Regions from separate parts of the Homo sapiens genome. Here all the other regions are linked to region 7. The links are contacts of gene promoters, found by promoter capture Hi-C in blood cells and fetal thymus (Javierre and others, 2016). All regions are on one chromosome and are shown on one strand. The core of a region is centred on a gene start or on the middle of the fragment in contact, and the rest is flanking DNA. Distances in the headings are between cores, read along the strand shown.

Evidence for each region. Contacts are between HindIII fragments. The CHiCAGO score rates a contact against its expected background, and 5 or more counts as called.
Region 1: a fragment that was not itself captured here is called in contact with the fragment with the promoter of FGF9 in region 7 in 11 of 17 cell types (naive B cells, total CD8 T cells, naive CD4 T cells and 8 more); the score reaches 21.1 in naive B cells.
Region 2: a fragment that was not itself captured here is called in contact with the fragment with the promoter of FGF9 in region 7 in 9 of 17 cell types (naive B cells, naive CD8 T cells, total B cells and 6 more); the score reaches 8.1 in naive B cells.
Region 3: a contact is called between a fragment that was not itself captured here and the fragment with the promoter of FGF9 in region 7, in 7 of 17 cell types (naive B cells, naive CD4 T cells, total CD8 T cells and 4 more). The highest score is 7.6, in naive B cells.
Region 4: a contact is called between a fragment that was not itself captured here and the fragment with the promoter of FGF9 in region 7, in 8 of 17 cell types (naive CD4 T cells, total CD4 T cells, naive CD8 T cells and 5 more). The highest score is 7.7, in naive CD4 T cells.
Region 5: a fragment that was not itself captured here is called in contact with the fragment with the promoter of FGF9 in region 7 in 1 of 17 cell types (activated CD4 T cells); the score reaches 5.1 in activated CD4 T cells.
Region 6: a contact is called between a fragment that was not itself captured here and the fragment with the promoter of FGF9 in region 7, in 1 of 17 cell types (naive CD4 T cells). The highest score is 5.2, in naive CD4 T cells.

What each region holds. Positions count from the first base shown.
Region 1 is chr13:22,282,895-22,286,198 of GRCh38, reverse strand. No RefSeq gene overlaps it. Among named protein-coding and RNA genes, the nearest start is that of LINC00540, 74 kb to the right of the region's middle. The HindIII fragment of the contact is 1,711 bases long and covers 1,037-2,747 here.
Region 2 is chr13:22,263,791-22,267,243 of GRCh38, reverse strand. The region is part of intron 1 of LINC00540 (long intergenic non-protein coding RNA 540); the gene reads right to left. Among named protein-coding and RNA genes, the nearest start is that of LINC00540, 55 kb to the right of the region's middle. The HindIII fragment of the contact is 1,164 bases long and covers 1,511-2,674 here.
Region 3 is chr13:22,211,170-22,214,618 of GRCh38, reverse strand. The region is part of intron 1 of LINC00540 (long intergenic non-protein coding RNA 540); the gene reads right to left. Among named protein-coding and RNA genes, the nearest start is that of LINC00540, 2.6 kb to the right of the region's middle. RefSeq lists a silencer at 2,270-2,449. The HindIII fragment of the contact is 209 bases long and covers 1,339-1,547 here.
Region 4 is chr13:22,243,363-22,246,582 of GRCh38, reverse strand. The region is part of intron 1 of LINC00540 (long intergenic non-protein coding RNA 540); the gene reads right to left. Among named protein-coding and RNA genes, the nearest start is that of LINC00540, 35 kb to the right of the region's middle. The HindIII fragment of the contact is 7,702 bases long and covers 1-3,220 here.
Region 5 is chr13:21,132,255-21,135,493 of GRCh38, reverse strand. No RefSeq gene overlaps it. Among named protein-coding and RNA genes, the nearest start is that of SAP18, 6.2 kb to the left of the region's middle. The HindIII fragment of the contact is 2,647 bases long and covers 568-3,214 here.
Region 6 is chr13:22,307,693-22,311,131 of GRCh38, reverse strand. No RefSeq gene overlaps it. Among named protein-coding and RNA genes, the nearest start is that of LINC00540, 99 kb to the right of the region's middle. The HindIII fragment of the contact is 491 bases long and covers 1,370-1,860 here.
Region 7 is chr13:21,669,207-21,672,724 of GRCh38, reverse strand. FGF9 (fibroblast growth factor 9) reads right to left here and starts at 1,652. Exons shown (of 3, transcript NM_002010.3): 1 at 536-1,652. The coding sequence starts at 812. RefSeq lists silencers at 1,665-1,724, 1,745-1,794, 2,575-2,834. The HindIII fragment of the contact is 3,792 bases long and covers 191-3,518 here.

The DNA.
Region 1 (3,304 bases), core at 643-3,142, 610 kb before region 7:
TTTTCCTGCTACTCCTAGAAGGTTGCTTGCAAATGAGTAGTAAATGAAGCAGCAGTTGATCACAGTACCCCCAAGAGCAGCTTTTCCCCCCACTGGCAATGTTACTGAAAGACTCCTCCAGTCTTCAACTTGTTTTACTTCCTCTATTTCATAAAACTTTACCAAATGTTCACTCGGCACCAGGTGACAAAGTAAGCCAGAGAAATACAGTCAACAATACAAAGCCACTTAAATGAATCTACATTCAGGTTAGTAGGACAGATAAATAAGTTAGCAGTTTCAGGTCGCTTCTGTGTGACCTGGCCACTGCTTACTGCTCTGTCCTCGTAGCTCAGCACCTGTTTCTCGCAGTCTGCCCCACCACACCGGGCTCCCCCAGTCCCTCCAATGCCCATGCTGCTTCACGCTGCCAGCTTGGGACGCAGGCTGCTCTCCATGTCTGTGGTGGTCTTCCTTGGCTCTTCATTTGGCAAATGTCTATGAATCCTTCAGGTCTTGGCTTAGAGGACACCTCACCAGGAAGCCTTCCCAGAGCCCGAGACTGGGCTCAGTGCTGCTCCAACATGCTCTCCCATAGAGTGTGGTGTTTCTCACACCATATCATAGATGCTGAGGCTCAGAGATACAGGGATTGTACCAATCACTATATCTCTGAGACATGATGTCATGTCTGGTACAGGGCAGATGTCCAAGACATGCTTATTCAATGAGTGAATGAATGGATGACCAGACTAGAGCTATGAAGGCATTATTTTTCAATGTCTGTTTACCCTAAATCCTTACCTAAGTAGTTTTATGGAATTGTGTAGAGTTCCTCTGGTGTTAGAAATTATTTTAAGGCTTTGTGTGACTATTTCCAAAATGGTAGTTGGTAATAGGGTAATAAAACAAGAAGCTTCTGTGGTTAAATACATTTGTCAAACTCTGGCGTAAACAAAATGAAATAGATTTATCGCAGAAAAGTCTCAGAAGCTTCAAAATACTCAGATGAAATGTAAGTCTACAAAAGGGGGCTGTGTGAAGCATTGCCTAAGCTTTCTTGGGCCAAAGAACCCTTTCATAACATACACACCGTGCCAACACTTCTCACGGGCTGCATGTCCTGCCCTGGGCACTGCTCATGGCCCTGAGGAGAAACAGTGAGTGAATGGGATCCCTGTCATCAAAAAAATGGCTGTCCAGTCAGGACAAACAGACAATAAACAGCCCAACAAACACATAATCAAATGATCAAATACAAAGAGGAGTTTAAAAATCCTTTCATCAGTGCTGCTAAGAGTTTATGATAAAATAATTAGTGAAATCACGATTGGAAGGGGTGGAAGAGTGATTAGGGAAGTTTCATGCAACAGGTACATAAAGGTGAGAAGAAGCTGGTCTCAGCACCTCACACCTGTAATCCCAACACTCTGAGAGGCTGAGGTGGAAGGATCACTTGAGGCCAGGAGTGCCAGACCAACTTGTGTGGCATATAGCTAAATTCCATCTCTATACAATTTTTTTTAATTATCTGGGCATGGTGGCATACACCTGTAGTCCCAGTTACTTGGGAGGCTGAGACAGGAAGACTGCTTGAGCCTAGGAGTTCAATGTTGTGGGAAACCATGATCACATCACTGCACTTCAGCCTGGTTGACAGGCTGATAACATTACGTGGAGTGAGACCCTGTCTCTAAACAAGTAAAGAAAAAAAAATGATGAGACAGAGTCCTCAGTGCAAACATCTGAACAAAAAGTATCCCAGGAATAGGGAGCAGCAGGTGTAAGGGCCTTGAGGTAGAGCAAGCTCAGTGTATCCCCGAACAGAAAGGAAGTTCAGAGGGGGTGAAGCCTGAGGAACAAAAGGAAGTTATGGTGGGAGGTAAGGGCTGAGAGTCAACATAGGCCAGGTAGTACAGGGCCATGTGGTTCCAATTCAATATGGATTAAAACAGGAAGCCATTAAAGAATCTTGAGCCAGGGCCGGGGAGCGGTGGGGAACGTGGGTGATCTTTTTTAAAGATCATTCTGTTACCTCTTTTTGTCATCTTAAAATTTATAGTTAAAGGATGAAGAGAAATTTCAATTAATGAAATACAAACAAAAGTGGCAATGAAATCAACACATATTATTCTGACATCAAGAAGCAAATTGTAGCAGTGGCAATACTAAAAATTCAGATCATACAAAAGTTGTAACTCATTTAGAGGAAGAAACAAACTGCAAAAAGAAATAATAAATAACTTTTTGGACTGTACCAATGACTAAAGAGAGTAAATTGCATGAACACATTGGGAAAAGATGTGAGTTTCTCCCTGACTTTCACAAATATAGTGAAAACTCAAAATACACCACTTCCATGAGTGAATGGATGTTGTCAGTTCAAAGACTATGTAAGTTTAGTCATGGACCGAGAATGCTTGAAATGACTTGAACTCTTACAGCTCATCTATGAAAGAGACTCAGTAGAGGATTATCCGCATTTGACAACAATCCTAATAATCTACGTGTAACCAGAGATGCGTTGTGAAGCTAAAAGTAACTTTTCCAAATTATTTTAACCAACAATGCTGGAAAAAAGGCTGAATTATTTTTTTTCTATTTTCCCTACAGAACATACTTTTACGAAATTTTTGTTACATGTCAAGGCAAAATACAAGTAGCCCCCCGAACCCCTAAAAAAACAGGAGAAAAAATGTTATGAAGTTGTGTTAGGACATAAAGAAATCTTACTTTTCTGGATTTTATGTTTATAGCCTTTGAAAGCTTTTTAAAATGTATAATTTGTTATGTTGTTTCTGTCTCTCTAAACAAATATTTACTTTGGTATTAATGATATATTTCTAAGTTTATACTCTGTTTCTTAAAGAGGACCTTGCCAACCTGGGTCTATGCTTGCATGGAGGTGTGAGACAGTCAAGGAGCATGAGGAATTGGATGTGCATGGAAGATGAGCGACTAGAGATGAATAATGGACATAGGGAAGCAGAAAGGAAGACACAGGAAGTCCAAACTACTAAAATTGCTGGGCAGGGTGGTGCAAGCCTCTAATCCTGGCTACTTAGGAGGCTGAGGCGGGAGGATCCCAGACCAGCCTGGGCAACACAGTGAGGCTCTGTCTCAAAAAATAATAATAAAATAAAAATAAATTGAAATATCCTTTTGCAGATTTAAAAGTTACATATAAATTAAGAAACAGGTCAGAGAAGACAACATAGCTTTGGAGGGCTGAGCAGGCTATTTGAAAATAGTCTGGAATAAAGACCAGCCATATTTCCCCATGAGGCAGAAACTTTAACTTTTCTAGGCATTGTGATATTAACTT
Region 2 (3,453 bases), core at 843-3,342, 590 kb before region 7:
ATATTGTAAGGCATATTTTGTATTTTTACTCTACCTGTATCTAGAATACATCATTACCAATAGGCAGCAGTACATATGTGGTTGGTTATATATTGATATTACCAGTGTTGGGCATGTGAGTAGGATTATTTATAATTTTTATTTATTTTTTATACATTTCTATATTTTCCCAATTTATATTTCTAATTTAATACATACATGCTTTTTGAGACTGAAGAATAATAACTGTTGTTCTGATTATAGAATTAAAGAAGTTTAGCATTGTACCTGGCACATAATAGCTGCTCAACAAACTTTTATTGCATTAATGAATGACATTGGATGAGAAAGAAAAGAGAATGGATAGTAATTAGGAGAGAATTTCAGGGTCACAAGAGAGTTTCTGTAAGGATAGGCTATTTGAGCATGTGTATAGGTTGAGGAAAAGAACTTAGTAAAGAAGGAATAAATCTAAGATACACTGTTGGAACATAAGAAGCTGAGATCAAGGGCCTGAGGGGAGACTGGTCTTGGGCAGAAACAGAGACTAAAGAGCAGAGGTTTGCTGAGCAGACAGGCAAATAATAAGGAAGGCAAGGAATTGTTTCATAGTTTATGTATATAACTTTATCTCTGTTCATATTTTATGTATATAACTTTATATACTGTTACCAATATGGCAGAGTTGGTGTTACTCAACCTGAAAAGTCTGTACTCTGACTCCTGTAGCCTCTACACCTCTAAAATTTTCATGTAAAATAGAAAAGGTTTTCTAGGGAGACTGAAAGACTAGGAGCTACATAGAAGGCTCCAGTGGAGTTTTGGGGAGGACAGCACAGTAATGAATAGTCATTGTGTTTAAACTAGGGAGCAATGGAAGATTTAATTACTAAGTGTTCTGTAATGCAGTATTTTAGAAACTTTGTCTCAAGTTATATGCTACTTTCTGTAATTATAGAAATCTAATGTTATTTTATCTAATTTTGATCTGGGTGCAGACAGTGTCAACATCTTGGCTCTAGAATCAATAACATGTGTTCAGGTTTTGTGATTGGTAATACTCCCCCTCGGAAACCCCCTTTCTCCTGCATCATTCAGGCCACTACAACAGCAGGTGGATCTTCATGATGTTTTTTGTTAGTCTCTGATGGAGAAGAGACTAGTACAGTTTTGGCACATGGACTGAAAATACGTAAGATATAGTTTGCAAAGCCGGCATGTAGAAAAGTTCTGCCTTTGTTAAAAACAAAATCTTATCTCAATAACTTCAAATAATTTCACACAATTTCTTATGCCCTGAATGAGTCTTGGTCTTAGGTATGCATATATGACTTACCTACTTTTTTCCTGCTATTAGCCAAGATCTGCACCACCCCCCCACCCCCACCCCATGTCAGATACACTCAAATTTGCTAGTTTCCATACTAAGAGTTCCACCTACTCCTTTTACACTCAGGGGAAGGAACAAGTACTCGTTGTACTTTCCACTTTAAATAGAGAGCACCTGCCAATGCACTTGGCACATAAAGCTTGTGCTCAATAAATGTTAGATACTAATATACGGAACATAGTGGTCTTCGTACACTGCTAAGAATTACCAGTAGTCCAACAATACACTTCCTAGCTCGCTAATGACGTGTGAGTTTAAGAAAGGGCTCAAACCAATCAAGGGAGAAATTTCTTACATTAAAGCATTATACAAGGAGTGAATTCATTATTCAACAATAAATGTTCTGCTGGTTATTAATCCAGGTCCTGGGGATGGTATTTAGAGCTACCAAACCAGCTAACTTCCCTCAGTCATCTACTGCTATAACAGAGTTTGTGCAAGCACAGTTATAAAGACCATAAGAAGGAAGAAATCCAAGTTGTGCCAAGGCTACTTGGAAGAGAATTATGATGGAAATGTTTATTAAGATTCTCAATAAATAAAATGCCATGCATGGGATGGCTTATTGGTGAATTTGAGCTGTTTCAGGCCGATTTTCTTATAATCCCACATGTGCTCACCAGCTGACCCGTATCTTGATATCATCTGCTGGACGTTACTGAGATAATAAGAACATTCTCCTGGGATGGGAGTAGGGATACAAATCAGTTTTCTCAAAGTAATGTCAGTATGTGTGAAATTTACCATAACCACGGGATTGTCAAATATATATATATATATATATATAAAAGAGATAATCATTGGCTAATCTTATTTTTACAGTAAGCATGGGATGAAAAAGGTTAGTGTATTCATAACTACTATAAAAAACATTAAAATTATCTAAAAATATCATTACTAATGCTTAAATGTAAAGTTAGCACAGCAGTGAACACGAACATTTTAGAGTTGTAGAGGCTCAAGAAGTCAGAGTCCAGAATTTTCAGGCTGAGCAACACCAACTCTGTCTAATTGGAAACAGTAGCAATTAAAGTAGAGGACTATTAAATCCTATCAATATCTCTTTCAACCAATCATGATGCAATTTTCACTGTCAACTTTGTAATCTGTATTAAAGAATAATATCTTTTTCTTTATTGTGTTACAAGTGATGTCCTGTAGGTCATGTAAAAATTTAAAAAAAATAAAATGAGAATTAAATCAATTTTGTAGACAATTTAGTTCTTATTTATATCTACCAAGATTTTTCTCTTTTAATATTCAGATAAAGATAGGTTAGGGGACTTGAATCACACAGATAAAGCTTCGGTGTTTTACTTCATTGTGTTTGGATGAACATACACATATTAAAAGAAAAGACAGACATAATTTCCTGTCATTCATCTAAGGACAATTCAGACTTAATACATGGAAGCAACATTTTTTAAACAATCATTTAAAAAGCTAAGTGCTCCTTGAAAAACATTATTGACCTTTTTTAATCACCAGGGCTTGTATTCTCATCCTTATTTGCACTATTTGTACTGTGTACATCATCAGTCTTAGCGCATCTCCATCCTTGATGCCTGTTTATGAACAAAAACAGAGTTAAGCAATACCTAGTAAGTCCTTCACGTGTGTGGCCCTAAGCGTTCTGTCTATTAAAGGCAGCTGGATTTGAAACCCCGTAGGACCCAACTTGCAAAGATAAGGAAACTAATACAGGGTATGGCCATAAGCATTGATCCACCTTTCTGGGTCAACAGCTGCTCATCTGTTGATATCTCTGATGAAAGCAGGGGAGCATGACGAAATAGCCATGAACGTATCATGCATCACTCCTTCCGCCATCCCCACCCACAACACCAGAGGTTGATTTTTTTTTTTTTTTTTTTTTTTTGGAGATGGAGTCTTGCACTCTTGCTCCGGCTGGAGTGTGGTGGCGCCATCTCGGCTCACTGCAAGCTCTGCCTCCCAGGTTCACGCCATTCTCCTGTCTCAGCCTCCCAAGTAGCTGGGACTACAGGCGCCCACCACCACGCCCAGCTAATTTTTTTTGTATTTTTTTAGTAGAGATGGGGTTTCACCATGTTAGCCAGGATGGT
Region 3 (3,449 bases), core at 194-2,693, 540 kb before region 7:
AAGAGCACAAGTGTAACACACCAGAATCAATTCCCTGCTTCTTTGTCTAACAATGAGTTCCTACTCCCTGCCTTCCCCAGGCTAGAAAAAAACTGTCAGACAATACCAGCCTAAAAACAGTGCATTTGAGAATTCAACAACTCAGGGGTAATTCAGAACAAACAAGAAATGTATCAGCAGAAGTCTAGAGAGGGAGAGGCTGGAGGGATGTTCATACGCACACACCACCCCCATCCCCTAGTTCCCCTTCAACAGATGACAGGAAATAAACTTTTTTTTTTCCTTAGCTGCTATGCACATAAAGAATATGCACGCAGAACTAGGCCTCAGGAGAAAAGTCGTGCTGGATCTTAATTCATGGTATGTGGTTAAACATGTTTTCATGTTGTCAAAGATTAAATAATTAGGAGAACATGGTCAAGATCAAAAGGCAGCACCATGTCACAAGCAATTAGGAGGCTCCTACAGCTGTGACAACTAGGGATCCCCACTGGTATGGTACCTGCTTTAGCAAACCATGTGGGCGCAATATGAAGTCTAGATTGGGCACTTCAGGACTTTTCATTTAAATCTCATTAAGAGGGTTGCAATCCAATAAATACAAAAATAACAGCTAAAATGGGTTTTAAGTTCAGCGCAATAGAAGAGGGGAGAAAAAGAAAACGCAAGTCAATTGACTGTAAATGAAAAATCTTTTCTGGAAAAATTCTAAATCGAAATGTATCACACGTCTTAGAACGGATCTCCAACCCAAGATACATGCAAAATCCTTTTTTCAGTGTACGTTCTTATGAAGAAAGACACATGTTGATGATTCAAGTGAGTTTACAAAGGGGCGTGTAAGTCATCATAGCAATATTAAGTGGGTTTTTTGTAGTGATCCTATCTGTTGCTGAATTTTATGGATTAGAATGTCAAAGCGTGAACCAGAGAATCTCACCTGAGAATCCCTCTACAGTAAAATCCTTATGAAAGTGAAATTTGGCAATAGGGAAACAGCACGAGTAAGTCTAAAATGAAACATTAAAATGGTCTGATTTTCAAACCTTAAAGTTAAAATCAAGCTTTAAACATCTCTGTGGTCTGACCTGGGCACCAAACAGTTTTTATCCCCAAGTCTTCCAGAGTGTGTGGGGAAGTCTTCCATTGTCTAGGCTGGGGATCCCATGCAGGAGAGCCACACACGCTGAGAGGAAGAACTGAAGAGAACTGCTAATAGCCCCAGATGTGGCCTAGTCCACACAATCCAAACACGCGGGTCTGCCCTGGACCCAGCTCGGTTCAGGAAATCACAGAATTAAATGGCGATTTTACTCTGTGATTTCTCACCATAAAGCTTCTATTAAAACAATGTTCACATGGTTAGTTTAAAACATTTCTGTGGATAAGAAAAGCCTTGTAACCCCCAGGCCAGATTATTTGTGGATACCACTAAGGTCCCATCAACAGCCCAAATGGCTCTTATCTGCCCTTGGCAGGACCTCATTTGGCCCCATTCTGAGGTCCTCTCATTCCTCCAGCATCCTCCCGGAAGTCACAGAGAAGCTTCTCATCTGCCTTGATATCCTGCACTTGGGTGGGGCTTTGTTCGAGGCATGAACTGCTCTCCTTTTAGACTATCATCTCTAAGAAAATAGCCAGGCAAGGAAGGACTGCCCTCATCCCAGGCCACACGGACTGTGGCCCTCGAATCACAACACAGCTGCTGCTGCCCACTTACATGTGACTGAGTGGCCACTCAGTCCCTGCACTAAACTCAAGGCTGTCGCCTGCTCTGTGGCTCTTCACTGCTCCAGAATTCTCTCCAAGTCCACTGTGCCTCTTTAGACAGCGGCCATGTCCCCAACGCTACCCACTCCCTGACACCTGCCTCTGTCCTCCCCTCCACTTGGCTTGCCTGGCACACCACTGCCTGGGGCTCCCGGTCGCTGTGCTCTGCGTAACCTGCCTTTCCACAACGAGGATACTTCAGCCCCTCATGGCATAGCTTTTAGAGTTTTGTTGTTTTTTGTGAGACAGAGTCTTGCTCTATCGCCCAGGCTGGAGTGAAGTGGTGTGATCTCGTGTCACTGCAGCCTCCGCCTCCTGGGTTCAAGTGATTCTCCCGCCTCAGCCTGAGTAGCTGGGACTACAGGCGTGCGCCAGCATGCCTAACTAATTTTTGTATTTTTAGTAGAGACAGGGTTTTGCCATGTCGCCCAGGCTGGTCTCAAACTCCTGACCTCAGGTGATCCACCTGCCTCGGTCTCCCAAAGTGCTGGGATTATAGGCATGAGGCACTGCACCCAGCCGAAGCTTTTAGTTTTTGCACAACTCTGTCATCCCTACAGTGTGCACTCACCTAAAGGGGCACTGGCTCTGAAACGACTCTCACAGCAGGTGCGGCTCCATCATCCTGCAGGCCCTGCTGTCAGAGAGCCGCTCCTCCCTGCTGGCTCCTCTCCTAGGGTCCCACATGGTGACTGCCTTAATGTCCCCTGACACCTCCACACAGACACAATGGAAACGTCTCCCCTGACCCTGCTTCTGACTCACTCGATGAGTCTGAGATATTGGAGCAGAGATGACCACAAAGTTAATGTAAGCTGACGGTGCGATGTAACCACTGAAAACGCGAATGCTGCCCTAAGCTGAAAACCCTCGTGTATGGCACCCGGATGGAGAGAAGGAAAAGTCCCATGCAGTGCACCGCCCGTGCCCATGCCCACTGCAGGGCGCCATGCTGGGCTCCAGGAAATACACTTTTCGAGGACAATTTGACTATGATTAGTTTAGAAGGAGGTAACTTGAGTGGTGAGGAGCTAAAAGCAAGCCTGTTTAATGAGGGATTGAAGGAACTTGGGGTGTTGACAATGTGGAAATGAAGAGGAAGCATGATTCGGCTCTCAAAGAGGAGAGGGTGCCAAGTCTGTGAAAGATCGCCTGGTTCTGTGTGGCTCAAATGGGAAACCCAGCCAAACATCTATCAAATTCAACGTATTAGCAATGTTTTCTATTCCTTCTCCATCCTTCTCATCTTTACCTAACCCCACTGTTTTTCATTCTTTTTGTTTCTAACAATAAAGCTGCCCATGAAGGGACTCTGTGGCCTGGAAGGTGGTGACCTCCCTCTAACTGGGACTGTTCAGGCACGGGTGGACAGCATCGTGGAAGGGCATTCAGGAAAATACCAGCTTAAATGAGGCAGGAGCCTGGACTGGAAAACTTCTAACATTTGCTCAAGAGCCCAGATCCCAGGACCTGAAGTGTGACTCAGAGCAGCGTCCCCAGGCTGGTGTGCAATGACACATTTCAGAATGTGTCCTTTCCATGGTCTATAAGTATGTTCCTCACAGAAAAATTGGAGACATAGAAAAGAAAATGAACCACTATTAAATGTATTAGGAATGAACACAGTTAGCGGGAGACATGAAGTGTATATGTATTTTTTTCTCTTCATTTTTCATTTA
Region 4 (3,220 bases), core at 478-2,977, 570 kb before region 7:
GCAGCCTGCAATCTGGAAGAGAGTCCTCACCGGAGATCAGCCATGTTGGCACCCAGATCTCAGATTTCTAGCCTCCAGGACTAGGACAAATAAATGTTTGCTGTGTAAGCCACTTGGTCTATTGTCCTTTCTGATGGCAGCCTGAGCTGACTCAGACACCTAGGAGTTGAGGTCTATAAGCAGAGAAGGGGTATATTCTGGTACATTTCGACTCCCTCATATAAATTCTGGTACATTTAGACTCCCTTCAATAAACACATTCTTTCACAAATTCTCATTGAACATGTACTAATTGCTAGGCCCCCCACTAGGAGCTGGGGATATAACCTACCTTTAAGGACTCTGCTGGAGAATTGACAGGTAGGGATGGCAGAGACTCCAGTCAACACTGCCTGTGCTCTGCCAGGGTGTGCAGAGCCGGGTAGCAGCAGGGAGCTGGTGGGAGGAGAGGGAAGGCTGCTCTGCCCGAACTGGGGCAGGGATCCTGCATCTCTCACAATGATAGGGACCACTAAAAGAGTCCAGTGACAAAGTGAGAATGCCTCACTCACATGCTGTCCCCACATCAATCATTGTTCCCTCTCATCCAATAAATAGGTCTTGCCAAAGTTACTACTACACTGCGAAATATAATGTACTAGCAGCAACAGAGCCTACAGATCTGCTTCATACACTTACAGATTCTAAGAGGGCATCCTGAGGCCCTGAGGCTGACTTTTTAACAATGCTGTTATTATTTGATCAACAGCTATTTGTAAAGAGGGAGATAGATAGATACATACATACATACATACGTAGATACATATGTAGATACATACATTCACAGATACCTATGTAGATACGTACATACACGGATACACAGATACCTAGATAGATAGATAGATGATAGATAGATAGATAGATACATAGATAGAGGTTCATGATAGATGATAGACAGACAGACAGACAGACAGACAGACAGACAGATAGTATATGTGTACACTGTTCCCTGAGGCTATGTTTATATTTCAAAAGGCTGAATTCGAAATACCGAGTAACAAAAATCATAAATGAATTCTCATCTTAAGTGTGTCCAAACTTTTACAGGGTGAAGCAATTTTCTCTTTTAGTTTCCCAAAGCAATGTGGTCTCGGAATTTAGTGCTGGCTTCTAAGAGATTTTGGGGCCTCACTCCGTATGTCTTGAATTGATGTCTATGGAATTTGGTCCCTACATTCATATTTTAATGTAAGAATACTAAACTTTGAGAATCTGCTCTTAAGCCTGAAAAGCCTTTGACAAGGGCTGGGAGATGGGCTCAAGTCCCCTGAGGCCTGAAATACAGAGGCAACCACTGACCACACCCCGTGCTCCCACTCCTCCAAGGACACCAGAGAACTGCAGCCACGGGCCTGGCTTTGACTGTGAACTGGCAGGAAGGTCTACAGATAGCCTTTCTGATTTCCTCAGACTCTAAGGCACTCGATTTTTTCTGTTTGTTTTAAAATATTTTAAAACCCTCACTTACAGTTGCAATTGGAGGTAATCGAGAACCATGTAAGTATTAATATAAGGAAACTGAACTGATAGATGTATCAAACCAAAAGCAATAACACACACACACACCTTTAAGAAAAGCAGTGAAAAGGGTATTGGGATATATTTTAAGGCCTTAGAGTGAAGAGCAACACGAAGGTAAGTGTCAAAAGACAAAATGACAACAGATTTAGTTTAATGAGCTCATTGGCTTTGATTTGTGACTGTGGAATCCAGCAACACCTCATTCTATAAAACAGAATGGGTGTTCCAATGAACGAAGCAGAGGAGTTCAGCTTCATAAGCAGAAAAGAGCTGAGGAGAGCAGACATAGAGAACAAAAAGCAACTGGTCATTTATTTCAAAGTTAACCTCCTTAGGGCTAAAGGTTGACTGGAATCTTCTGGTTTGGGGGAAAACTGGCCCATTTCAAAGTTCCCTTTGATGAGTGCCACTTAGCACCAGCAACTCCGTTCTGATTTGGTTTGATCTGCTGGATCCCAGTCCAGCAGCTCAGTCCCATAAACTTTGTTCAACACAAGTAAAATGAAAAGCGGAGTATTCTACTGCTCAAAACCACCTCAACCCAGAAAGGAGCTTCTGTGAGAATCACAAGGCTTGGAAATTCAGGTTGGAGGGTGGGATTTGCGGGTGAGGGATGAAGTGGAACAGAAACAAGAAGCCGGAGACAAGAATGAAAATGGTGAGATGGCCTCCCCTGTGTGGCTTCTCACAGCTGGGTCTGGCTAGGCCCGCGGTCCCCCAGCTGAATCCCTTCCACCCTACGAAGGGCTGACAAGGGAGAGGAAATGGGCGAAAAAGACGGGAGGAAGGGTAAATGGAGCAGCGCTGAGTTCAGAGGGGACCAACTACTGGGGACTCTGAGAGTTGGAAGCCCACCCAGCCATTCTCAGATCCCCTCTTTAAACCTGTTCACAACCTCGGCAGCCACATCCCCTCAGGGGAAAGCTGTGTTAAAACTGGAGGTGTAAGATGAAGACAGCAGCCTAATTAAGCAGATCACAATCTGTTCCTGCCTGGGGTCACCAGTAGGCCACTTCTAACCTTTCTGTTCAATGAGTCTGGGGCTCTGGGGAGGCGGGGCAGGAAGGCAGGAACTAAACACTTCAGATAACCCATGGCCACTCTAGTTCTCCACTCACATGTTAATTAGGAAACCACTGGAATTATAGCTTTGCCGGCTCTTAAATCAGTTTCCACGCTTAAAAGTTCCTGAAATTCTGACACCAGCGCCCTAAGATGGAAGGCCTCTTAGCCAGGCTGGCCCAGGGGTGTTCAAATGGGCACCCGTCAAGCAGCTGAGATTTATATAAATGAGGGCATTGTGTGTTCAAAAGGAGATTGGTATGTTTGATCTCGGCTGTTATTGATTTACCTTTTCCACATGATAACATTCATTAAGTCAGATAAGTAAATGTTGATGTGTTCCCTTTCAATTGTCAACAGCTAAAACATAGAGCAACCATCACACCCGGTGTAACTTCCATCCATTATCAGTGGGCTGAGACCAAAACTGTTTTCCTACCTCACCATTACCTGAGATGACTTATGACTCCCGAAACAAGAAACTGCTCTTATTTTTCTTGACTTTCTGTGTGCATGGGTTTGCATTGCAGTTCAAAGGAACAAAAGCAATAGAGAAAGGAAGCTACACCACGACAGTTTCTCAAGGTGTTTAACGCTG
Region 5 (3,239 bases), core at 642-3,141, 540 kb after region 7:
ACTAATAAAAACTTGCTGGTTTTGTGGCTCAGGAGGCATCACGGAAGCTGCCGACATGTGATGTCTCCCCCGGATGCCCAGCTTTAAAATTTCTCTGTTTTGTACTCTGTCCCTTTATTTCTCAGACCAGCCGACACTTAGGGAAAATAGAAAAGAACCTACGTGAAATATTGGGGGTGAATTTCGGCCCGATATCTCGCTGAATTTTCCCCCGATACATGCCCAGCTAATTTGTGTATTTTTAGTAGAGACAGGGTTTCACCATGTTGGCCAGGATGGTCTCAATCTCCTGACCTCGTGATCCGCTCACCTCAGCCTCCCAAAGTGCTGGGATTACAGGCGTGAGCCACCGTGCCCAGCCTTCTTTTTTAAAAAAGTAGAAGAAGCAAGTCACAGAACACATACGATAGGGTTCAATTTATGCAGTTTATTCAATTTGGGGGGAAAATAGGAACCCCTCACCTAAAAATACTGTTTAGGGAAACAAACATGAGTAGTAAAACTATAAAGAGAAGCAGGGGGAAATAAACACTAAATTCAGTTTAGTGTTACCTCTGAGGGTAAGCTTGGGTGATGCAATTTATGAAGGGCATCCACAGCTTCTAAGATACTGGTAATATACTCTTTCTCACTAGGAGGAGTGTGTTTTTTATTCTTTACATTGTAGCTGTACATCTTAGAAACTCTTTTGTATGTGTGATTTAGATTACTCTTTTAAAATAGTTATTTACTTACTTACTTTTGAGACAGGGTCTGGCTCCGCTGCCCAGGCTGGAATGCATTGGCATAATCTCAATCTCAGCTCACTGCAGCCTCCGCCTCCTGGACTCAAGCAATCCTCCCACCTCAGCCTCCCATGTGGCTGGGACCACAGGCCACACCACCATGCCTGGCTAATGTTTTCTAGAAACGGGGTTTTGCCATGTTGCCTAACTTGTCTCAAACTCCTGGGCTCGGCAGGGTGTGGTGGCTCATGCCTATAATCCCAGCATTTTGGGAGGCTGAGGCGGGCAGATCATGAGTTCAGGAGATGGAGACAATCTTGGCTAACACAGTGAAACCCTGTCTCTACTAAAAATACAAAAAATTAGCCGGGCGTGGTAGTGGGCACTTATAGTCCCGGCTACTCGGGAGGCTTAGGTGAGACTCCGTCTAAAAAAAAAAAAAAAAAATTCCTGGCCTCAAGCAATTCACCGCCTTGGCCTCCCAAAGTGCTGAGGTTACAAGTGTGACTAACCACACCCAGCCATAAAAAATTTATTTTTTCATTGTGCCTAGAATAGGCATGCATGCAGAGTTGCATGCAGGCAATGTTTGTTTTTTCAAAAAGATATTTAAATTTTCTCCCCAGTTCTATGATTCTAGTATATCTTTTTTTTTAAAATTTTATTTTTCTGAATAAAGAAGAATTCTAGGATGATTCTAGTATTATATCTTTTTCAAAACCTCCATAATATAATAATACAGACACATGAGGGCACTCTAATCAATCCATTAAAGGGAAAACATTGAAACTATGAAAATGAAGAACTTCACAACCTTTTATTGGTGATACTGGGGAGGGTTCATTTCTTAGATATAAGCTCTCATTTTGGGACCTTTCCAAATAACCAGCTCTCATCAAAATGAAACTTTCCGACATCTTGAGGCAGTAGAAGTGCATCTATATTTTAGAATACTTGGAATACTTTTTCAGCAGCCCTCATTCTACCTACATGGACTTGTAAAACCAGCTCTGAGTTGCTCCTGAAATTGTAATATTTAAGGGTATGCATCTTTCCTTTCTTTTTAGAATTTACGTGGACAAGTATTACACTTCTAAGTAATATACCCAAGGGAATTGAAAGCAGGGACTCAGGTATTTGTGCACTAGTGTTCATAGCAGTATTATTCACAGTAGCCAAAAGGTAGAAACAATCTGAATGTCCATCAACAGATGGAAAGATACACATAGAATGGAATATTCAGCTTTCAAAAGGAATAAAATTCTGACACGTTACAACGTGGGTGAACCTAGAAAACATTATGCTAAGTGAAATACGCCAGACACAAAAGAACAAACATTGTGTGATTTCATTTATAAGAGGCACATAGAATGAACAGGCAAATTCATAGGCAGAAAGTAAAAGAGAGGCTGCCAGCGGCTGGTGGGTACGTGGGGACTGGGAAGTTATTGCTTAATGGGTACAGAGTTTCTTTTTGAGATGATGAAAAAATTCTGGATATGGATGGTGGGAATGGTTGCACAACATAGTGAACATACTTCAAGTCACTGAATTGTACACCAAAAAATTGTTAAAATGATAACATTTATGTTACATACATTTTATCACAATTTTAAAAATTAAAAAAAGTGAACATCTGAAGTATGTGAAAAATAAGTCATCAGACTCTCTCCACTCTTCTTTTTCTACTCTCTCTCTTTTGTGTGTCCTAGCATTATGAATCTAGGAAAAGGCAGATTCTCCGAATTAAAATCAGAAATATGTAATGAGGAGTTCTAAAGAATATGCCTCAGTCAATCACTGCAACTCCATGGCATTCTCTGCTGTTAATATGAAGAAGAATGACCTTTTAATGGCAGGGAAATAAGTGAACACTATACAAAATTTGTTTCTGGAGAAGATTTAATGAAATGTATTATCCATAGAACTATCTGGTTGTTTATAAAAGTTGTGGATTATAAATTTGAATCTCTAGGGGATTATTAATGCTTTTCAAATTCCTCTCATGACACTCTTTCCTTCAGGTGTATCTGTAGGCGACAAGGGGTACAGCATTTATAAGCACAATATTTACTGGGCTCTGTTTCCCAAAGGGTTGTATGTGAACAGTCTCAGTAAAGCATCTACTTGTTACCAAGAGTAAAGGCTGGGCGCAAAGGCTCACACCTGTAATCCCAGCACTTTGGGAGGCTGAGGCAGGAATATCACTTGAGTCCAGGAGTTCAAGACCAGCCTGAGCAACATTATCAAGACCCCTGTCTCTTAAAAAAAAAAAAAAATTAGCTGGGGTGGGACGTGCCTGTAGTCCCAGGTACTCAGGAAGCTGGAGGTGGGAGGTTTGTATGAGCCCAGGAGGTCAAGGCTGCAGTGAGCCGTGATTGTGTATAACTGTACAACTCTTTTGCTTAGACAACAGAGTGAGACCCTGTCTCAAAAAAGGAGTCGAAAAAATATATAAATTTCCATAACAATCCTAGAAGAATTAAGCTTACAGATAGTACAATTACTACTTAG
Region 6 (3,439 bases), core at 366-2,865, 640 kb before region 7:
AAGGCCATATTCTGAGGCTCTTGGTAGACTTTTTTTTTTTCAGGGGAGGGGGACACCACTCAAACTATTAAAACCTTTACAGCAACGTGACCGTGGATAAATTATACAATTATAAGTGCTGAGGATTCTTAATAAAAAATATAAGGATTTGAAATTAAATATTGCAAACATCAAGAAAATAGACACATATGTAACAATAATCCAGACTAAAGAAATGTCAGCATTTGTCATATTTATTACATTTTTTAACTTTTTTAAAAAATGAGATATTATAGATAAAACAACTCTCCATCTCATTCTCCTCCTACCCTCTCCAAATATAGTCACTATTCCTGAAGTATGTTTGCATTCATAGCAATTTTATTATTTTAGTATTGCATACTTGATGATGCAAGTAAAACTAACTTATTTTAACTGCTACATCAGAGAGTTTAGAATTGAAATTGACTTCTCTGAGCCTCAGAATCTTTCATAATATTCTTGCCCTAGCCACCCCGTAACATTATGATAACCAAAGGAAATGACTGTGTGACTGATCCACATACACTACATAGTTTACATGATTATAAGGTAGGATATTTCTTCTTTCTCCTAAAATGGTCACCCTCTTTGCTGATGTGCTGCAATTCAGTATGCCTATTGCTATTGTTTCTAAATCATGAAGATTTTAATAAATTGTCATCATACTTTCTTTACTAGCAAAGTGGATATAAATAGCCTTTATTAAAAGCTCTTACATTAATATTGGCATCGTCTTATTTTAACTTAACATGCTACAGAAACTTAGGTAACCCATTCTATCATCATATCCAACTGGCAAAACCAAAGATGTTTCTAATCTCTCACTTTCTTTTACTGGACCGTAGATGGTGGCACAAGCAATTGGCCTTTGTCATGCTATTTCCAAACACAGGTGGCATTTTAGCAAAGCTTCTTCATCTGGTCCCATGATACAACAAAACCAACGAAAGGCAGCTAACCCCTTTAAAAATAGCGTCATTGTTCAGGATTTCAAAGGTTGCATATTCCATGGATTCTAGTTTACATACAACATTAATTTCATTTAAACCTTGGTGTATTTTATCGTAATTGTTAAGACTTCTAATACTATCTTGGACTCCTGTTAATAAAGAATAAATGTACTACGTGGCAGCACCACCGTTTATTATGTATAACCTTGCCTATGTTTAGGTCACTAAATATAAATGTGTAAAAGTAAATAGGATTATATTAATTAGGATAAAATAGAGCCAAGGAAGAGAGTGGAGGTTGAGGTGGGGTATGAAAAGAGTGGAGTTGAGAGAATTTCACCAGAAACATTAAGTTTAAAAATACCACTTCCACTGAGCCCCAAAAATAATTCTAAGCTTCCTGGTAGCAAAAGCAAAGAGGGAATACCCTATATAATTAGAGTCATCTATTAAATGATAGCCTAATAGTTCTTGACAAGAAAAACTTTTCCTTTCTTGGCACATAAATGCCCAATAAATATGTCTTGAATAAATAAGAAGCAACTTGTTATGTAGACTTAGAATCACCTGTGCTTTCAATAACACCAACAAAAAATTGTTCATCATTATTTTTTATATCAACCTTTAAGAAAAGGCAAGAATTGAATTGTAGTTCTGTAAAGGTTTCCCCATGGAAGTCTAAGGGAATAAACTCCAAGTGACTTTCTAATACTCTAATTGATATAATGATAGAGATTTTGGAATTTAAAAGAATGACGAGTTAACATGTCACATGATTTTCTCTTTGAATGTTCATTTTCTTAGCTGGATTTTTAGCAAAGAATAAGAAGCAGAAAGGTGACTGGAGTATAAGTATTTTGTGCTACTGATCAAAATAAAAGCCAAAGCTTGAAATGTCAGGGGTATAGATGTTTGTCTTGAAGTGTTTGGTTCATACTAAAGGAAGAGCACTCACCAAGTGGTACTGTGATCCTTTGATTTACAATAGCTGCTCTTCCAAGCATATTACAGTTGAATATGCTTTAGGACAGGGCTGTTACTTCTTTATCTTTGTATCTCCATTGCCTAGCAAAGTGCCTGGAATTTATAGTATTCCATAAATATGTATTGACTCACAGGATGAAGATTTTTTGTTTAAAAAAGAAGTGGAAAATGCTAAAAGCTGATAATACAATGTCTAGACTTCTAACTAGGTTTTTCTGAGAATTTTATGTTAAACAAATCCAAATCCATGTACAAAACTGTCATGTCGATAGGCACTTGCAGAAACTATACATGGCGTTTTAGAGAAGGAGGAGGTCTAGACTTCAGTCTAGACAAGGTTAAGTCTAGACAAGACACTAGTCGTGAGTCTAAAGTAATCTTAGCTGCCTTTCAGGACATTGTCCAGCTCACAACCAGAGTCATCTTTTAGTCAACATTTTAGGTCCATTCCTCAATGTTTAACTCTGGCCAAGTGTTTTAGCCTCTTTAAATCTCATTATTTCATTAAAAAAAAAAAGAATGTGTTGAATCAGATGTTGTCTATAATTCCTTCTAACTCTAAACTTGTGTAATTCTAACTTTCGTTCTTCAATGACTCCTCTCTTTTTATAACTCTTTCAAACTGAACTTATTTATTCATATCTTCTGTAAATTGCTTGAGTAATTTATTTATTGTTTAATCCCATTAGAACAACACTACCTTTAAAATTTAGTCTACTAATAAAATGACAAAGTTATGTTTTCATTTATTATTTTCACACTTTTGAACTTTATTTTCATTATCTTTTATCACCATGCCATTTTGGAAAAAAAATATCTACTTCTGGTGTTTCTTACTTTTATTTCACCATGAAGATCATTGTCATATTTATGAATTATTCACTTACTCCATTTATATTATTCTCCAAAAACAGTTTTTACCACAATTGATATATAAATGAATTCCACAAGATTACATTACTAAGTGTGATTATATTGATCACAAGGGATAAGACCACTAATTATATATCTTTCAAAATAAGAGAATATACTCGGTGTATGTTAGAAAAATGTAAATCTAAATTGAAATGTTAAACTAATAAATATTACATTTAAGATAAATGTAATGGCCCTGTGAAAGGCCATTTAAAAATCAAATTATAAAGTGATATTGACAGAAATGGCAGAAAAATAATTTTGAAAATTCTCTCTTTCATGACATCAAGAGAACACTAGCCAAAATTATCAGAATCTACTTTTTAAAAACTCTGGAAATAATAGGCTTACAGCAATCCCTGATGTGTATTCAAGAAACATGGGTGCATCTTAGTAGGAACAGCAGACTACAAAGAACTTAAACAAATGTACAAGAAAAAACCAAACCCCACCAAAAAGTGGGCAAAGGATGTCAACCCCATCAAAAAGTGGGCGAATTATAATGAACTTCTCAAAAGAAGACATTTATGCAGCCAACAAACATATGAAAAAGAGCTCATTATAACTAA
Region 7 (3,518 bases), core at 403-2,902:
CCGTCAGCAACCTTCGCCTATGGGGCTTTCAGACCCTCACAGGGGAGAATAAACAATGCACTTAATATACAATTCAAGTAGTATACTTACTAGAGGAAAGGGGGAAAGGAAAAAAACCTTAATTTGGGCACAAGATACCCACTGCCTTCAAGAAACTGCATTAAGTTCTTAGTAGTTAATGATTAAAGCTTTAAACTCGTGCAATCAGTCCATTCAAAAGAAACTTCCTAAACCCGTGTATCTGATGCAAAAGAACTGGAAACTTGTATTATATTTATAAATTATGCCCCCCTTTAAATTAAAAGTAGGGGGCCTTTCAGTGTATACTTGCATCAGTGCCAGCAGCAGATCTGCAATTCCGGAGGCATTTTTTTTTCGGAGCTGGCAAGACAGAGAGAGAGAGAGACAGAGATACAGAGAAAGAGGGGAGGAGGGGAGAACCCTTCCCACGTCCCCCACCCGGCCACCACCTTCTTGGTAGTTATAATTTCAACATGTCATCTCATGGACACTAAAGGGTTAATGGTATACCTACCAAATCGGCTGTGGTCTTTCCTGGTTCCCTGGATAGTACCATTGGGGAAGATTTCTAAGTGAAATCCAGTCCTGCAGTATAGCTGCCTCCGCCTGAGAATCCCCTTTAAATGATCCAAGTCCGTGACTGCGGGTCCCCTGGGGAGCCCCCCTGCTTCGGACTGACCCAGGTGGTCACTTAACAAAACCGGGCTGTCCACCGGCAACACGGGCACATTCCCAAACGGTACCGCATCCTGCACACCGAAATAGTTCCCAACTTCACCTAAGGGAGCCATCAGAGGACTCGGCTTTTGGAGCACAAGAATAAACAATAATGATGGTGTCAACCCAGGAGATATTAGGCGAGGTATATCCAACTCCCCTCCCTTACTGCAGTTGCAGAGAGAGAGAGAAAAAAAAGGTTCTTTTCTTCAATCCATTAAATGCATAAATAAAAGTAATCTGCTGTTTCACTGGCACAGGTTCAAGGTCAAACCACTGATAGTCTAAGAAACCACCACTTTATACTCACACACTGACATATTGATAAACATATCTATGTATCTCTATAGATAGATCCCCAGCTCTTAGCAGGCAGGAAGGTCTTCATCCCATCCGACCGTAATAAGGAAAAAAAATCCGTAGTTTCTCCATTTGGTTTGAGATCAGAATGACCATAGCAACTTAAATGCCTAGGCGTTATTATAGGGATTTTTAAGATGCACGGGCTACGTCAGAATTTACGGATCCTGACTCCAGGAAGGCATGCGCTGTTTTTACTCTCTAACCGACTCTGCAGACATCAGCATGAATCCTTCAAGGGGAAAAAAAAATCTCACGTTGGTGGCGGCGACAAATCTCCCCTCCCGGTCCCCCCTCCAAAAAATGATAATAATAATAAAACAAAAAGAAGAAGAAACTTTAGGCGTCCAAAGCTAGTATCCAGGATTCTCCAGAGGCTCGGCAGATGTCCATTGGCTTAGAACGGGTGGCGAGCGGCGAGCGAGGAGAGCCGCGTCCGGGAGCTCGCGTGCCGCCCAGGCTGCCGCGAACAGGTGTTGCCGCGCCGGCTCGCGGAGCGTTGTAGCCGGGCGGAGCGCTCCTCCTGCGCAGCCCCCGCCGGCGCGCAGAGTGGCGCAGGCAGCGGCATTGGGCTGGGTTTAAGGTAGCGCCGCCGCAGCCCGGGCTCCCCGCGGTCCTAGCGCCCGGCTTACTGCCCGCGCCGCTCTGCGGCAGGCGAGGTGCGGCGCGCCAGAGCGCAGGACTTCCTGGGAGGCAGTCGAGGAGCCCTGGCTTTACAAAGAAAAGCAAATGAAAGATGCACTGCGAGAGGCGGGAGGAAGAAACCCTGAGTCTCCCGAGACTCAAAGTTCTCCTGCAGAATAGAAGCCGGTAACCTACAATCTAGCTGGCTGGCTACATTGATGGAGGGTCAGAGTGAAACTGGGAAACTAGTTTTCACTGGGGCTCTGTAACCTTGCGTTGTATTATAGAATATGACTGAGTTGAGAGAGTCGGAGGGAAGGGGAGTTGATTTAATGGACTCGGATGGCCATGGCAGTTTCTCTTCCATTCTTCGGCCACACACACAGAAGCGCAAACTATGTTTCAGGTAAGATCAACTCCTCTCCCCCGTCACACACACACACACACACACACACGCAGATGCGGCCACCGTTTCTGTTTTGTTTGGAGCGTTCTGCTGGGCATCTTTGGGTTGGGGCTATGTTTAGGTCCCGCCCCGCTGCTCGGGTCCCGGCGGCCGCAAAGCAGTCGGCAGGGGGGCGCCAGAGAACCTTCTCTGTCCCCGACTTCGACTCGGGCGCGCGTCTTCGGGAGTCTGGGTGGAGGGGAGCGCTCCAGTAGGCGTCTTCTCGCCCTCAAACCACGCTGCTTAGGACGAGCGGCGCCATCCCAAGCCGTGCATCGGCTCGGGGAAGCGAAAGGCGAGTTCTGGTGTCTCACTCCACCGTCCGAAGCCCGCCGCGGAGCTGGGAGGGCCGGGCACTGGATGCTTGCGGGGCGCCCCGGGGCTGCAGCCGCTCCTTCCTGCTCTGCCCTGCGGGGCCGCACGTGGAAGCCTGAGCTCCGTTGCGCGGGCTCGGGTTTCTGTTAGCCGCCGGCGGCCTTCGCGCCCAGCGGGAGTCAGGGACAAAGAAACCCGCCTCCGGGGGCCGCCAGGGGCCCTGCCGGGCCGGGCCCGCCAGAGAGACTGGAGGCGGCGCGCTCTGCGCCCGGGACAGCCTGCCTGCGCCCGGATCCCCAGTGGCGGCGGGCGCGGAGCGCGGCGCCCCCCAACACACACACACACACACACACACACACACACACACACACACTCGCCCACAGCCCTCCCGCGGGGCCCCCCTTCCCTCCCCCTGCTCCTCTTTGTTCACATTGTCTTAGAAACGGCCCGACTCTCGGGTCAAGATGGTGAAAGTTGCCGAGACTTGAGCGCAGCTCCACACTGCGGGGCGTGCAACTGAGAAGCAAAGTCGAAAGCAGAGACTGAACCCCTGCGGTGGGGAAGCGAATCAAAACCTGGTTATGGGGGAGAAGTCGGATCCGCCTTAGTAGTCAGCTAAAGGCTGGAGATGCATAACTGGGGCTGGCCCTACTCCGGACGGGAGGGCTTCGCCTGAAGACGAAAGGGAGCGATGAATTTGCAGATTTCGGGGGCGCTGGAGGTGCCAGCGACCTGGAGCGACCTTCCCCTGCCCTCCGGGGAGGAAGGCGTGCTCCGGCCCGGGCGAGGAGGAAGGAGAGAAGAGCGAGTGGTCCTCCCCTCTTCCTTTCCCACCCCCCCTTTGCCGCAGTCCAGGGTCATTGGGTGTCCGGGGCTGGCTCGGTGCGTCTTGCTTACGTGTTTCTGAAGCATGAGAGCCCTGCCCCGTGGTATTTACAGCAGTCACATCCGCGGTGGTACAGAGCGGGCTTTAACGTTAACTGCTCGGCGGCAGATACAAGAAGCTGGGTATTAAGTGTCACTTCTCATAAACCAC